5 separate regions of the Homo sapiens genome follow, and all the other regions are linked to region 1. Evidence: promoter capture Hi-C in 16 types of primary human blood cells and fetal thymus (Javierre and others, 2016). All regions are on one chromosome and are shown on one strand. Each heading gives the region's core, a stretch centred on a gene start or on the middle of the fragment in contact. The rest is flanking DNA. Distances are from core to core; before and after follow the strand shown.

Evidence for each region. Contacts are between HindIII fragments. The CHiCAGO score rates a contact against its expected background, and 5 or more counts as called.
Region 2: a contact is called between a fragment that was not itself captured here and the fragment with the promoter of RNF111 in region 1, in 8 of 17 cell types (neutrophils, total CD8 T cells, total B cells and 5 more). The highest score is 10.7, in neutrophils.
Region 3: a contact is called between a fragment that was not itself captured here and the fragment with the promoter of RNF111 in region 1, in 3 of 17 cell types (fetal thymus, megakaryocytes and endothelial precursors). The highest score is 8.2, in fetal thymus.
Region 4: a contact is called between a fragment that was not itself captured here and the fragment with the promoter of RNF111 in region 1, in 1 of 17 cell types (M2 macrophages). The highest score is 5.2, in M2 macrophages.
Region 5: a contact is called between a fragment that was not itself captured here and the fragment with the promoter of RNF111 in region 1, in 1 of 17 cell types (neutrophils). The highest score is 9.6, in neutrophils.

What each region holds. Positions count from the first base shown.
Region 1 is chr15:58,986,249-58,988,948 of GRCh38, forward strand. It overlaps RNF111 (ring finger protein 111), which reads left to right and starts at 1,415. Exons shown (of 14, transcript NM_017610.8): 1 at 1,415-1,820. RefSeq lists a silencer at 2,134-2,298. The HindIII fragment of the contact is 2,845 bases long and covers 1-2,566 here.
Region 2 is chr15:59,538,713-59,541,544 of GRCh38, forward strand. No RefSeq gene overlaps it. Among named protein-coding and RNA genes, the nearest start is that of GCNT3, 72 kb to the right of the region's middle. The HindIII fragment of the contact is 5,264 bases long and covers 1-2,832 here.
Region 3 is chr15:58,221,825-58,224,524 of GRCh38, forward strand. No RefSeq gene overlaps it. Among named protein-coding and RNA genes, the nearest start is that of AQP9, 85 kb to the left of the region's middle. RefSeq lists a silencer at 33-82. The HindIII fragment of the contact is 1,662 bases long and covers 542-2,203 here.
Region 4 is chr15:59,631,436-59,634,135 of GRCh38, forward strand. No RefSeq gene overlaps it. Among named protein-coding and RNA genes, the nearest start is that of GCNT3, 21 kb to the left of the region's middle. The HindIII fragment of the contact is 1,233 bases long and covers 765-1,997 here.
Region 5 is chr15:59,693,127-59,695,906 of GRCh38, forward strand. No RefSeq gene overlaps it. Among named protein-coding and RNA genes, the nearest start is that of BNIP2, 5.2 kb to the left of the region's middle. The HindIII fragment of the contact is 5,936 bases long and covers 1-2,780 here.

The sequences.
Region 1 (2,700 bases), core at 165-2,664:
CTCTGTCGCCCAGGCTGGAGTGCAGTGGCACAATCTCGCACTCACTACAACCTCTGCCTCCCGGGTCCTAGCAATTCTCCTGTGTCAGCCTCCCGAGTAGCTGGGGTTACAGGCGCCCGCCACTACGCCCGGCTAATTTTTTGTATTTTTAGTAGAGACAGCGTTTCACCGTGTTAGCCAGGATGGTCTCCATCTCCTGACCTCATGATCCGCCCGCCTTGGCCTCCAAAAGTGCTGGGATTACAGGCGTGAGCCACCGCGCCCAGCCTTTTTTTTTTTTTTCTTGGAGACGGAGTCTCCCTGTCACCCGGGCTGGGGTGCAATGGCTTGATCATGGCTCACTGCAACCTCGGCCACCCTGGCTCAAGCGATTCTCCTGCCTCAGCCTGCCGAGTAGCTGGGATTACAGGCGTCCGCCACCACGCCCAGCTAGTTTTTGTATTTTTAGTGGAGAAGGAGTTTCACCATGTTGGCCAGGCTGGTCTTGAACTCCTGATCTCAGGTAGTCCACCCGCCTAGGCCTCCCAAAGTGCTGGGATTACAGGCGTGAGCCACCGTGCCCGGCCAAAATCATTTGCTTACTGAATGATACGGAAAATATGAGTGAACAAAAAAAGTATTGAAAAAGATGAGTTGATGGCAAAGGGAGGGAATTAATGTTTAGTGAACACTTAATTGGCAAGTAATGTTCAGAGCATTATATAAATTGTCTCATTTAATCTAACAAGAACCTTTTGAGGTAAATACGTTATCCCAATTTATAGAGGAGGAAACTAAGATTTATAAGGATCTCATCAATCAGAGAACTCTTAAGTGGCACCACTGGACTTTGAAAGGAAGTCTGCCTGATGGACTCTGAAGCTCATCCTCTCTCTATCCTCCTAATGCATATAATGACGCATTTGTTATCTACTGACTTTTATAAAATAAACAAGGAGGCTTATGCGATTGTACAGCCCGAGTTCGCAGGAGATATGTGACCACTTTTGATCTGATTCCGGAAGCAAATTCACTTTAACAGTGAGGTGCCGTGATCTTTATGTCATTAGCGCATATGATATGGGTATCATTTGTTGTGAAAGACACTAACCCATGATGTTTTTGTTTACGTATATCTGTAAATGTATCAATTCTGTAGTTGGTTAATTTTTAGTTACGAAAAAATGAACCAAGATGTAGTCAAGATTTGGCTTAAATGTTGAACGCATAATCACCAAAGAAAATTAAATAATGAGCTTTGTGACACCTTTCAGTTCGCCAACAGACTGATAAAACCAGTACAAAGGGGGAGGGCCGGGACCGAGGGGGCGGGACGGTGAGAAACGGGAATCGAGCAAGCGCAGAAACAAACAGATGTTAATGGAGGCGTGAAGGCTACTGCGCTCTCACTTTCCGAACTGTCGTAAAGAGCCCTAGTGTCGTGCTCTCCTCGGTAGGGGAGGAATTGGTTAGGCGGCGGCGGCGGCGAAGCGGCGGCGGCGGCTGTAGGGGAGCAGCGGCAGTGGCGGCGACGGCGAGGAGGTGTTCGGTTTGCGCAGCGTAGAAACGCCCGCAGCTTCAGAGAAGGAGTTCTTGTGGGACCAAATTAGGCATTCTGAACCCACGCCGGCTTAGCTGGGCCGAGTCCAGGCGCTGCCGCACGTACAGTTTTGGTGGCGGTGACAGACACTGTTCTTGACTCTAGGGGCCTATTAGGCCGACGTCTGAGGCGCAGATCGCTGGCTCTCGACGCATTACTCTTTACGCCTTACATTTCTGTCTTCCTTCCTGGGTCAGTGATTCCCGGACCCTGGAAGAGAAGAGGGTGGCTAATGATTAAGGTGAGGGGAACGGGGGGGGAGGGGATCCATTGGAGGCCGCGCGTGCGCGCAACGGGGGAGGGGCCGGCCTGGAGGGGAGAAAGAGGAAGGGCTGCGGCCGCGGAAGGCTGGGGTCGGTGACCGGCCGGTTATCTCTGGCTCGGTGGTGACTTAGGGTCTGGGTCTCCGCAGACGATTTGTGTTTGGGCAAGGCATTCGTCTACCGACACACCCACAGCCTACAGTGAGGGAGTGTGGGTGAGGGGATTTCTCTCCCACTTCCGACTCTCCCTAGAGTCTCAGGATGGGGGCTGAGGACCGAGGCGTGGGAGTGCGATTTGACAATGGAGTGATGAAGGTAACCCGGACCCGGGGAGTTGGAGGGCGCTAAGTCAGCCCTGACGGCTAGGGAGTCGCCTGCTGCTGCTGTGATCAAGGAAACGTAGTCCGCGGAACAGCTGAAATACAGACGCGTCAGATTTTGTATGGAGTTGGCTTGTTGGTCATTTAAAAAGAAACTGATGTTTTTACTATTGTCCTTCGATAATTTATCAGAGTCAGTGTCAGTGCTATAGTGGGAATATCTGTTCAGTGCAGCAGAAATAGATTTGTTACAACAGTTCTTAAATAGGTTATAGTAGATAGATCTTTACAGATGGGTATTTCTCAACCTAAGTTTTGATTATTCAAAAAATACCAGAAAGTATGAGGTATTCATTTAATTTGTTCGTGTGTGTGTTGTGGGGTGACTCCATTGTGTTGTTGTAAGCTTTCCTGTTTCTTGATTTATGTGCGGCATTAATTTAGAATTCTCTTGAATGGTAAGATGCCAGCTGACATAGACTACGTTTTGTAGGATTTCCTGTAGCTTTTGAATGTGACTTAATCTAAACTTTATTTC
Region 2 (2,832 bases), core at 170-2,669, 550 kb after region 1:
TCAATTTTTTTTTTTTGAGACAGGGTCTTACTGTGTTGCCCAGGCTGGTCTGAAACTCTTGGTCTCCAGCAATCCTTCCACCTCAGCCTCCCAAAATGCCGGAATGACAGACATCAGGCTCTGTGCCTGGCTAGTAACAAGTTTTGATGAAGATGTGAAGAAATTTGGAAACCTCATATATTGCCAGTGAAAATGCAAACTGGTGCAGCCCCTTTGGTTTCATTTACTTATTTATTTTTGAGATAAGTTTTCACTCTGTTGCTCAGGCTAGAGTGCAGTGATACAATTATAGCTCACTGTAGCCTCAACCTCCTGGCTCAAGTGATCCTACCCACTCGGCCTCCTGAGTATTTAAGAGTATCAGTGCAGGCCACCACACCCAGCTATATATTTTTTATATATATGTATGTGTATATATACACATATATATGTGTGTGTGTATATATATGTGTGTGTGTATGTATATGTACGTATATATGTGTGTATATATGTACATATATATATACGTGTATATGTGTGTATATACATACGTATATGTGTATATATACGTATATACGTGTATATATATGTGTATATATACGTGTATATATACGTGTGTATATATACGTGTATATATACGTGTGTATATATACGTGTATATATACGTGTGTATATATACGTGTATATATACGTGTGTATATATACGTGTATATATACGTGTGTATATATACGTGTATATATACGTGTGTATATATACGTGTATATATACGTGTGTATATATACGTGTATATATACGTGTGTATATATACGTGTATATATACGTGTGTATATATACGTGTATATATACGTGTGTATATATACGTGTATATATACGTGTGTATATATACGTGTATATATACGTGTGTATATATACGTGTATATATACGTGTGTATATATACGTGTATATATACGTGTGTATATATACGTGTATATATACGTGTGTATATATACGTGTATATATGTGTGTATATATACGTGTATATATATGTGTGTATATATACGTGTATATATATACGTGTGTATATATACGTGTATATATATACGTGTGTATATGTGTATATATATACGTGTATATATATACGCGTATATATATACGTGTATATATATATATATATATTTTTTTTTTCTTGGTAGAGGCAGGGTCTTATTATGTTGCTCAGGCTGACCTTGAACTCCTCAAGTGATCCTTCTGCCTTGGCCTCCCAAAGTGCTAGGATTACAGATGTGAGTCACCATGCCACACCCTGGAAAAGAGTGTGGTAAACAGGCAGTTCTTCAAAATGTTGAGTATAGAGTTCCCATATGACCCAGCAGTTTTACTGCTAAGTGTGTACACCAAAGAACTGAAAACCTAGGTCCACACAAAGACCTGTACAAGAATATTCATAACATGACAAAAAGGAATTTGAGGAAATCTAAAAAAAAAAAAAGAATATTCATAGAAGCATTTTCATAGTAGACAAAAGGTGGGAACAACACAAATATTCATCAACTGATGAATGGATAAATAAAATGTGGCACATAATACAATGTAATATTATTCAGCCGTAAAAAGGAATGGAATTGTGATCCATGCTACATCATGGATGACCCTTGGAAAGATTCTTTTTTTTTAAAATTAAATGTTTTGAGACAGTATCTCACTCTGTTGCCCAGGCTGGAGTGCAGCGGCCTGATCACGGCTCACTGCAGCCTGGATCTCCCAAGGTTCAGGTGATCCTCGTGCCTCAGCCCCCAAAACAGCTGGGAATGCAGGTGCTCACCACCATGCCTGACTGATTTTTGTATTTTTAGTAGAGATGGGGTTTCGCCATGTTGCCCAGGCTGTTCTCAAACTCCTGGGCTCAAACGATCTACCCACCTCGGTCTCACAAAGTACTGTGATTATAGGTGTGAGACACCACGACCAGCCTGGAAATATATCTGAAGTGAAGGAAGCCAGTCACAAAAGACCACATAGGGTAAAATTTCATGCATTATAAAATGTTCAGAACAGGCCAATCTATAAACACAGAAAGTGGCTTGGTGGTTTCCAGAAACTGGGGTGAAGGTGGAATGATAAGTGACTGCTAATGCGGACAAGGTTTCTTTTTGGAGTGATAAAAATATTAAAACACTCTCTACCAATAACCTGGAGGAAAATAAACACTCAACATCCATTTAAAAATGTAATAAAGATAAAGACGTGGTTGTGCCTTTGGGTTCAAAATATAACTGGGTTGAAGTGGATGTCTCCTGCTGCCTGGCCAGCCTGTGCCTTCTTTTACTAGGGTGACAGCCTCTGGCTTCTCTTGAAGAACAAGCCCCGGTTCTGTGTGGTTCTGGTGGAAATGTTATTGAAAGGACTCCTTACCTCCCACTAAGGGGCAAATACTTTGGCTTGGAAATTTGAACTGAATTAAATGGCCTAAGGAAACTGTTGAGATGGAATCATTCTCAGGATAGCACTTGAAATCTTTCCCTCCTTCCTTCCTTCTTTCCTTCCTTCCTTCCCTTCCTCCCTCCCTCCCTCCCTCCTTCCCTTCCCTCCCTCCCTTCCTCCTTCCTTCCTTCCCTCCCTTTCTTTTTTTTGAAACAGAGTTTCACTTTTGTCATCCAGGCTGGAGTGCAATAGCATGATCTCGGCACACTGCAACCTCCACCTCCTGGGCTCAAGTGATTCTCCTGCCTCAGCCTCCCAAGTAGCGGGGATTACAGGTGCCCGCCACCATGCCCAGCTAAGTTTTGTATTTTTAGTAGAGATGGGGTTTTGCCGTGTTGGCCAGGCTGGTCTCGAACTCCAGACCTCCCAGTCCTGCTGCCTGGACTCTCCT
Region 3 (2,700 bases), core at 123-2,622, 760 kb before region 1:
TGTGGTTAGCTGAGCCCCGTGGTGACAGCATCGTAGCCCAACTTCTCCTCTGTCCAGTCCTGCTTTCTTCCTTCAGGGTATTAATCCTATTAATCCTCCTGAACCTTGATCTCCAATTCAGGGTCTGCCACCTGGGGCCCAACCTGAGACCCCCCCAGAGTCATCCATTTTACTATTAGTAGAATTAAAAACTGACACCAAATCTTCTGACAATAAATCTACTAGTTGCACTGTATCATATTGCCTTTCAGATCCTTATCAATTTCCTTAAGTGTTAAGAACACTGAGGCCACTATTCAAATTTCCTCCTGGGGCAAAACGTCTCTATCTTTAAAGTTACTTGGCATCAAAGATAGTATTCTAGTTTTATTTAAAATACAATGTATTTAAAACACAACACATTGTGTTTTAAATAAAACAAACTAGAATATCCACTAAAATCTCTTCAGCGTTTGAATCTGGATAAAATTGATATGAAGTCCTAGTCCACGCTCTGTGGAAATTCAAAGCTTTCTGCAAGATTTCTGTAAATTTCCCCAAAAGCTTATATTCTTAAAACAGTTCTTACTCTGTCTCCTGCTTCCAAATGTACTGTCTAGCACATAGTAGGTGCTCAGTAAATATTTATTGTTAGCCAAGTGCCTCTTTTCCTTTCTCCTGGGAATAGTGGCCTCTTTGGGGAAACAATTTCTTTTCCCAGCATCTCAATACTAAAACAAGGGTTCCAAAACAGAGTATTTCTCTTTTTTACATGCAAATATTTTAGCATCAGTGATTGGCCCAGGGTTGAACACATAACCCAATTCAAGCCAATCAGTATCTCTTCCAGTGACTAAAGATTAGAACTAAGGGGAAAAGATCTTTTCGTGTCTGGCAGCAAAGCTCCGAGGTTAAGAGCCTGGAAGCTGCTGGTGGCCACATCCCTGTTGAGTAGAGAAAGTTCATCTGTCAAGGAAAAAATAAAGCCCACACATAATGATCAAGAGAGGAATCTGATGGTGTTTCAGTCCTACATAGCATAGTCTCTGAGCCAGCTCCACCTTCCCACAGTGTGAGCTGAAAAATGACATCACTGTCAGAGAAGCAGGCTAAATTACTTCCCCACAAGATGGAGCTGATGATAAGTGGCAATAATTGTAGTGGAAAAGGAATGTAGAATTAGAAAATAACACCAATCACAAAAACAAGTCAAAAGCTGTACACATAAAAAGGCAAAGAGAGAGTGACAGATTAAGAAGGTGAACAATGTTGCACAGTCCATTTGTGAACTGTTAAAAATGTAGCCTCTCCCTGGAAAACCCTTGCCCTTTGTCCATCAGCAACTCCTGTGATTCCAAAAAAGGCCATGTCTCTCCTCCAGAGGAAAACTTACTTGTGGCCCTTATCTAACCTCCCTCCCTACACATCTCTGTAAGTCCAATGTAGAACATGGGTTTGAGGTAGACTTCATTTGCTAAATACTTATCAAGAAGGCTTCAAAAAGCTGGTAGGGTTTTTAGTATCCATGTCACACAGAACAACGCCATTTGGTCTGGAAGAATGGCCTCAAGTTGGCTGTCTACATTAGTCAGCATCATCAAACAATCACTGAATCTCCAGCGGCCTACCCCAAGACTTTGGGAAGTGGAGGTTTTGTCTTTTGCAAAGGATTGATCCTCCTTTCTCTTTCTTTTTCTAGAAAGAGGAGAAAGATTTATCCTAGCATTAAGTTCCAGAGGAAAACTATTTTTGCTTCAGTGGAACTGAATGATTTGTAAAATCATTCCTCCTTTCAGGTTCTAGGTAGAATCACGTGCTCAAAATGATGCAATAGATGGAATTTATGCGAGCCAACCGTCTAACATTGCCCCCCTCCCCTCAATACACATACACACTTAGTCTTATAGGGGTGCTGTTCCAAAAAGGCCTCACCAAAAGCCCCCTCATACTCAGGTCTGCCTATGCAGTTTATACAGAGGAAGGGTCTTTTGGGAACCCTGCCCAGGTTCTTCTGGACAAAAGGCATAAATAACTCCAACTGGGTAGGTGACTGCTGGGGTCTGTAACATGGGCATTTTCCCAGTGATGAGGCTTTGAAATCCTCCAGGGTTTGAGACAAAATGTTAACTCTGTTGACTACAGGAAAATGATAAAGAAACAGCAAACACCACTTTAACACCAAAAGCTAGATTGTAATATGAATTTTCAAAATTCTAATTCTCTAAGCTTCCACTCCTGCATCCACAAAATGAAGAACAACAAGACCTACTTCACGCAGTGTCGTGCTCAGGCAATGTTGAGTAAGTGAATCACTGAGCTAATTAATTTGCTAAATAAATGCATCAGTGTTCTTGGTTGCAAACAATGGAAACTCAATACAACTAACTTAAGCAGAAAAAGCATCTGTGGTCAAGGCCCCTGGGGGCTCACAGAATTGGCCAGGAAGCAGAAAAGCCAGTGCATGATTGTGGGATGGAACCCAAGCAGGAAACACAGCCAAGGTCTTGGCACAGCAGCAGCCAGTCAGGACACAGCTGTCATCCCCCAGTGCTCACACACTGCCCAGCTAGAGGCCTGTCCCTGACCCACCCCCAGACATGTCCCTTGCTGCTGGGCTGTCCACTCACCTAGTGCAACTCCCCTGCCAAAGAAAATAGAAATGGGTCTCGTTCTGTGTGCCTGAGTCTCCTGGCTTCACCACTTAATGTTTAAAAAAAATGT
Region 4 (2,700 bases), core at 131-2,630, 650 kb after region 1:
TTGGTAAATTTATATATATACACACACACACACACACACACACACACACACACACACACATATATACATATATATACACATATATACACACACATATATATACATATATATATATTTTTTGAGATGGAGTCTTGCTCCATTGCCCAGGCTAGAGTGCAGTGGCGCAGGTATAGCTCACTATAGCCTCGAACTCCTGAGCTCAAGCAATTCTCCTGCCTTGGCCACCCAAGTAGATGGGACTACAGGTGCATGCCACCACACCTGGCTAATTTTTTTTTTTTTTTTGGTGGAGATGGGAGTCTCTATGTTGCCCAGGCTGGTCTCTAACTAGTGGCCTCAAGCAATCCCTCCCGCCTCAGCCTCCCAAAGTGCTGGGATTACAAGTGTGACCCGACATGCCTGGTTGGTAATTCTATTTTTAATTTTTTGAGGAACCATCATACTGTTTTCCTTAGTTGTGCCAGTTTTATATTCTCACCAATACTGTAAAAGAATTCCACTATGTCTATATTCTCACCAACACTTATTAATTTTTTTTTCTCTGCTAGTAGCCATCCTTATGGGTGTGAGGTGGTCTTCAGTATTTTTAAGATTTTATTTCATTGTCTTCTAGCTGCATAGCTGTTAACAAGTAGTCTTTGGAAATCATTATCTTTGTTTTTGTGGGTATAAAGTGTCTCTTACCTCTGCTTTTAAATTTTCTCTTTATCACTATTTTTCAGCAATTAGATTTTGATGTACTGTGGTTATCCTGCTTGGAGTTAAGCTTCTTCGTTGTTGGTTTATAGTTTTCGTCAAATTTGGAAAAATTTGGCCACTGTCTCCTTAATTTCATCTTTCTGTTCTCCCTTCCATATATAGCCACTCGATATTATTCCAAAAATCTCTGAGGTTTGATTCCTTTTTTCCCTAGTTATATTCTCTTTGTGCTGTATTTTAGATAAAATTTGTTTTTCAATTTCACTGATCTTCTTTAGTATCTAGTCTGCTATTCAGTTAATTGTTTTCATATATTGTATCTTTCATCTCTAGAAGTTCTGCTTTTTAAAAAAATCTTTGATTTTTCTCATTAAGTATTTGTATTAATACAAAAATGGCAGTTTTAACATCCTTGTCTGCTAGCTGTATCACCCCTGTCATTTCTGTGTCTGTTCCTGTTCATTATGTTTTGTCCTCATTATGGTCACATTTTCCTGCTGCTTAGCATGTCTAGTCATTTTTCTGTTAGATGGAGTACATTGTAACTCTTAAGTTATTGAGGATCTGGACTTCGTTTACTTGTGTTGGGCTTCATTTTGGCAATATTTGTGGAACAGTGTGATCTCCCTTGAGTCTGCTTTTCCGCTTTGCTAGGGTGAGTTTAAGTCAAGCAGCCTTCATTCAAGGGATATTTGATGCCTGCTACCAAGGCATGACCTTGGGGTTTCTAATGTCTTGGGTGATTACAGAGGACTCTTCCCTCTGGCATCCCCCAGTGTGAGCTTTGGGAATTGCTGTTTCCAACTCCCCACTCTTAGCTTGGCCTAGCGGAGTGTCACTGCTTCTATGCAGCCAGGCACTCAGTAAGGACTCGAGGGGACCACGGTATAGATTCCTGGAGGTTTTTTTTTCCCTCCATAGTGTTCTCCTTTCTGGAAATCTGCTTGCAGCTTCAACTATCTCACCTTTCCTCAACTCCGCAAGACTGCCAGGTTCTGTTTCTATTTCCTTTCCCTGTGCCTGCAGCTTGGATATTGCCTCCATGAAGAGAGCTGGGATGATTACAGGGTTCATCCTATTTTTTTCCTTTCTTAGGGATTACAGTCCTGTCACAGCTGCCTGTGGTCCAATATGTGGAAAACGTTTGTTTCATATACTTAATTTACTTTTCTAGTTGTTTATAGAAGGAAGTTAAGTCCCATCCTTCTTACTCTGGCATGACTAAATGTGGAAGTCTGCAGATAGAGTATTCCTATCAGGGAATAGAGGGAGTAGAAGCAGGAAAGAGAAATGCACAAAGCTTCTGTGTCCATCCCTTAACTTGGCCAAAGAATCAGTGCTGCCCATGTGTCTCCAGAAGTGGAAAGTATACCTTCACATCTCTGCCTACAGGCAAAAGAACCAGTTTTGAAGCCTATTTCTCTTGAATAGAATTTCAGGAAGTTCACAGAATCAGATAATAAGAGTTGGGATATTCAAGAGAAAGTTCCGTTGAGCATATTTCTACACAATGCTCTTTTGAGCTAATTCCCACTAAATACTTTGCTGTGTGTTGCCAAGTTCCTGTACCTCTTATTAGGTAAAATGCTTTGCCCTAAACTCCTTGCAGATTGTGCCTCCCTATGTACTAGAAAAATAAGATTACATTCTTACTACAGCATGCAAAAAATAGATGAATATTCATCAAATTAGAGAAGATTTTAGGATGGACTGACAAAAGCTACAAATTAATTCTGGAGGCTCCCTAAGGAGATGGCAAATAATCATCCAGAGCAGCTGAAACTGTTATGAGACCTTACTATCCATGTTGTGTTACTATCATGGCTTGTACAGGACCAACATGCCATGATAGTAAGACAACATGGACAAAGAAAACAAGCCTCAAATATAATATTTTAGGCTAAGTGCTGCACATTGCAGGCATTGATTTAAAAAAATCTTAGAATTGGCCGGGGATGGTGGCTCATGCCTGTAATTCCAGCACTTTGGGAGGCCGAGGCG
Region 5 (2,780 bases), core at 104-2,603, 710 kb after region 1:
CTGGAGTTGGAGACCAGGCTGGCCAACATGGTGAAACCCCACCTCTACTAAAAATACAAAATTTAGCTGGGTGTGGTGGCACACATCTGTAATCCCAGCTACTTGGAAGGCTGAAGCAGGGAAATCGGTTGAACCTGGGAGGTGGACGTTTCAGTGAGCCGAGGTCGCGCAACTGAACTCCAGCCTGGATGACAGAGCGAGACTCTGTCTCAAAAAACAAACAAACAAAAAAACCCACTGTATTCCCTGTGTTTCCAGACTTTTTGGACAAGATTTAGGGTATTTTTACAATTACTTATTGTTTCCTTGAATAGGCAGATATTTAAGCTCTTAAAAATTGGGGAAAAATTCCGTGGAAAAAAAAGCATGGCTTCCAGCCCTTATGCCCTACATAGCAGGTAACACTTGGAGAGTGATACATTAGCTCAGAGCCATGGTCAGCCTTTTCTTGTGTAGTTTTTGGTGTTATGTTTAAATAGGCATTCCTCACACTAAAATTGTATAGTCACTGTTGTTTTCTTTTTCTTTTTTTTTTGAGACGGAGTCTCGCTCTGTCGCCCAGGCTGGAGTGCAGTGGCGTGATCTCGGCTCACTGCAACCTCCATCTCCTGGGTTCAAGCAATTATCTGCCTCAGCCTCCCAAGTAGCTGGGATTATAGGTGCCTGCCACCACGCCCAGCTAATTTTTATATTTTTAGTGGAGACAGGGTTTCACCATTTTGGCCAGGTTGATCTTGAACTCCTGACCTCGTGATCCGCCCGCCTCAGCCTCCCAAAGTGCTGGGATTACAGTGAGCCACTGCGCCCGGCCCATCACTGTTGTTTTCTTCTGGTGGTCTTATAGTTTCTTTTTCTTTTTTCTTTTCTTTTTTTTTTTACATATGAATATTAAATCCAATTGGCATTTTGTGTATGTGCTTATGATATGAATAGGGAGTCTGACTTTACTAAACTGACTAAAGAGTTTGTGTAAAAGCATTTATTGAATAATCCAGTAATTCTTGAACTCACCTAGGACTCAGTCAAATGAATGTTTACTTTCAAAGTTGTCATTTTAGATTACCCACTTCTTTCAAGTATCCATTCATTTGATACATCTTTATTTACTTATTTAAATATTTATTTAGAAATGGGGTCTTGCTATTTTACCTAGGCTGGTCTCGAACTCCTGGCCTCAAGCAATCCTCCTGCCTCAGCCTCTCGAAGTGCTCTGCCATGCCCGCTTGAGATATATATATATATATGTTCTGAGACAGGGTTTCACTCTGCCATCTAGGCTGGAGTGCAGTGGCACGATCTTGGCTCACTGCAACCTTCGCCTTCTGGGTTTGTGCCTCAGCCATCAGAGTAGCAGGACTATAGGCGTGTGCCACCACACCCGGCTAATCTTTTTACTTTCATTTTTTAGTAGAGACAGGGTTTCGCCATGTTGACCAGGCTGGTCTCCAACTCCTGACCTTAAGTGATCTGCCTGCTTCAGCCTCTCAAATTGCTGGGATTACAGGTGGGAGCCACCACACCTGGCCAGTAAATCTTTATTGAACAATATCATAAATCAATGCTGTTGGGCCCCGAGGATGCAGGAAAAAAAAAGACATAGTATCTGCATTCAAAGAGCTTATCAACTGGTTAGGGAGAGGAGCAATGAAGACAATAAACAATTTGGTGGATTGAGGTGACCTTGGTACTTTTAAGGTGCAGCTAAATTGAAGGGAGCTAAACAGATTAGAGAGTGGGAGATAAAGGCAGTAGAGGTTTTCTGAATGAGGAGATCTTGAGCTTAGTAACAAGAGGATGATCTTTCTGGCAGAGGGAATTGGAATATGCAGATTCACAGAGGCTTCTAGGAACTGCAGTGTTCAGCATGACCAGAGCACAAGCAATGGGAGAAGGGGTGGCTGTAAATAGCCCTTAACAAAAAGGAAGTAGTCAAAGGCCAGATTAAAAAGGGATTTTTTTTAATGGTAAGGATTTATTTGTAGCCAATATAATGAGCAATGTGGAAAAGGAATCATCTATTAATTTATAATCGAATTCCAAAAGAAGAGATTGAAAGGTATCCTGCACAGTGGCAGCAGCGTTAGGATGAGTCCTCCTAAGACAACGAACTTTGAGAAAGGCAGCACTCATTTGAATATATGCTTCAGTATGTGTTAAAAGCATTTATGATACTTTGTCACACTTTGTACATTAAAATAAAAGTGCTCAGCCAACATAGACTTGGAAGAGGTGTTGAGCCTGTGCCGAGAGTGGTGGATAGTGATGAAAGGCTGAAGGCATGGACATGATGGCTAGACGGGGAGGCAGAAGACACCATCTGACCTATGCTAACAGGGAGTGATGTATCAGACTGATGAGAACAGGCCCTCTGACAACTTCTTGAAAGAATGATAATAGGCCAGGTGTGGTGGCTCGCACCTGTAATCTCAGCACTTTGGGAGGCCGAGGTGGGCGGATCATGAGGTCAAGAAATTGAGATCATCCTGGCCAAAATGGTGAGACCCTGTCTCTAAAAATACAAAAATTAGCTGGGCGTGGTGGTGCGTGCCTGTAATCCCAACTACTTGGGAGGCTGAGGCAGGAGAATTGCTTGAACCTGGGAGGCGGAGGTTGCAGTGAGCTGAGATCATGCCACTGTACTCCAGCCTGGGTGACAGAGTGAGACTCTGTGTCAAAAAAGAAAAAGAAAAAAAAAAAAGAATGATAACAGTGTTCAGGGTGAGTGGTGGAGCGGCTTTTCTCTGGGAAGCTCTCTCTATTATTAGGCACATGGTTTCCAC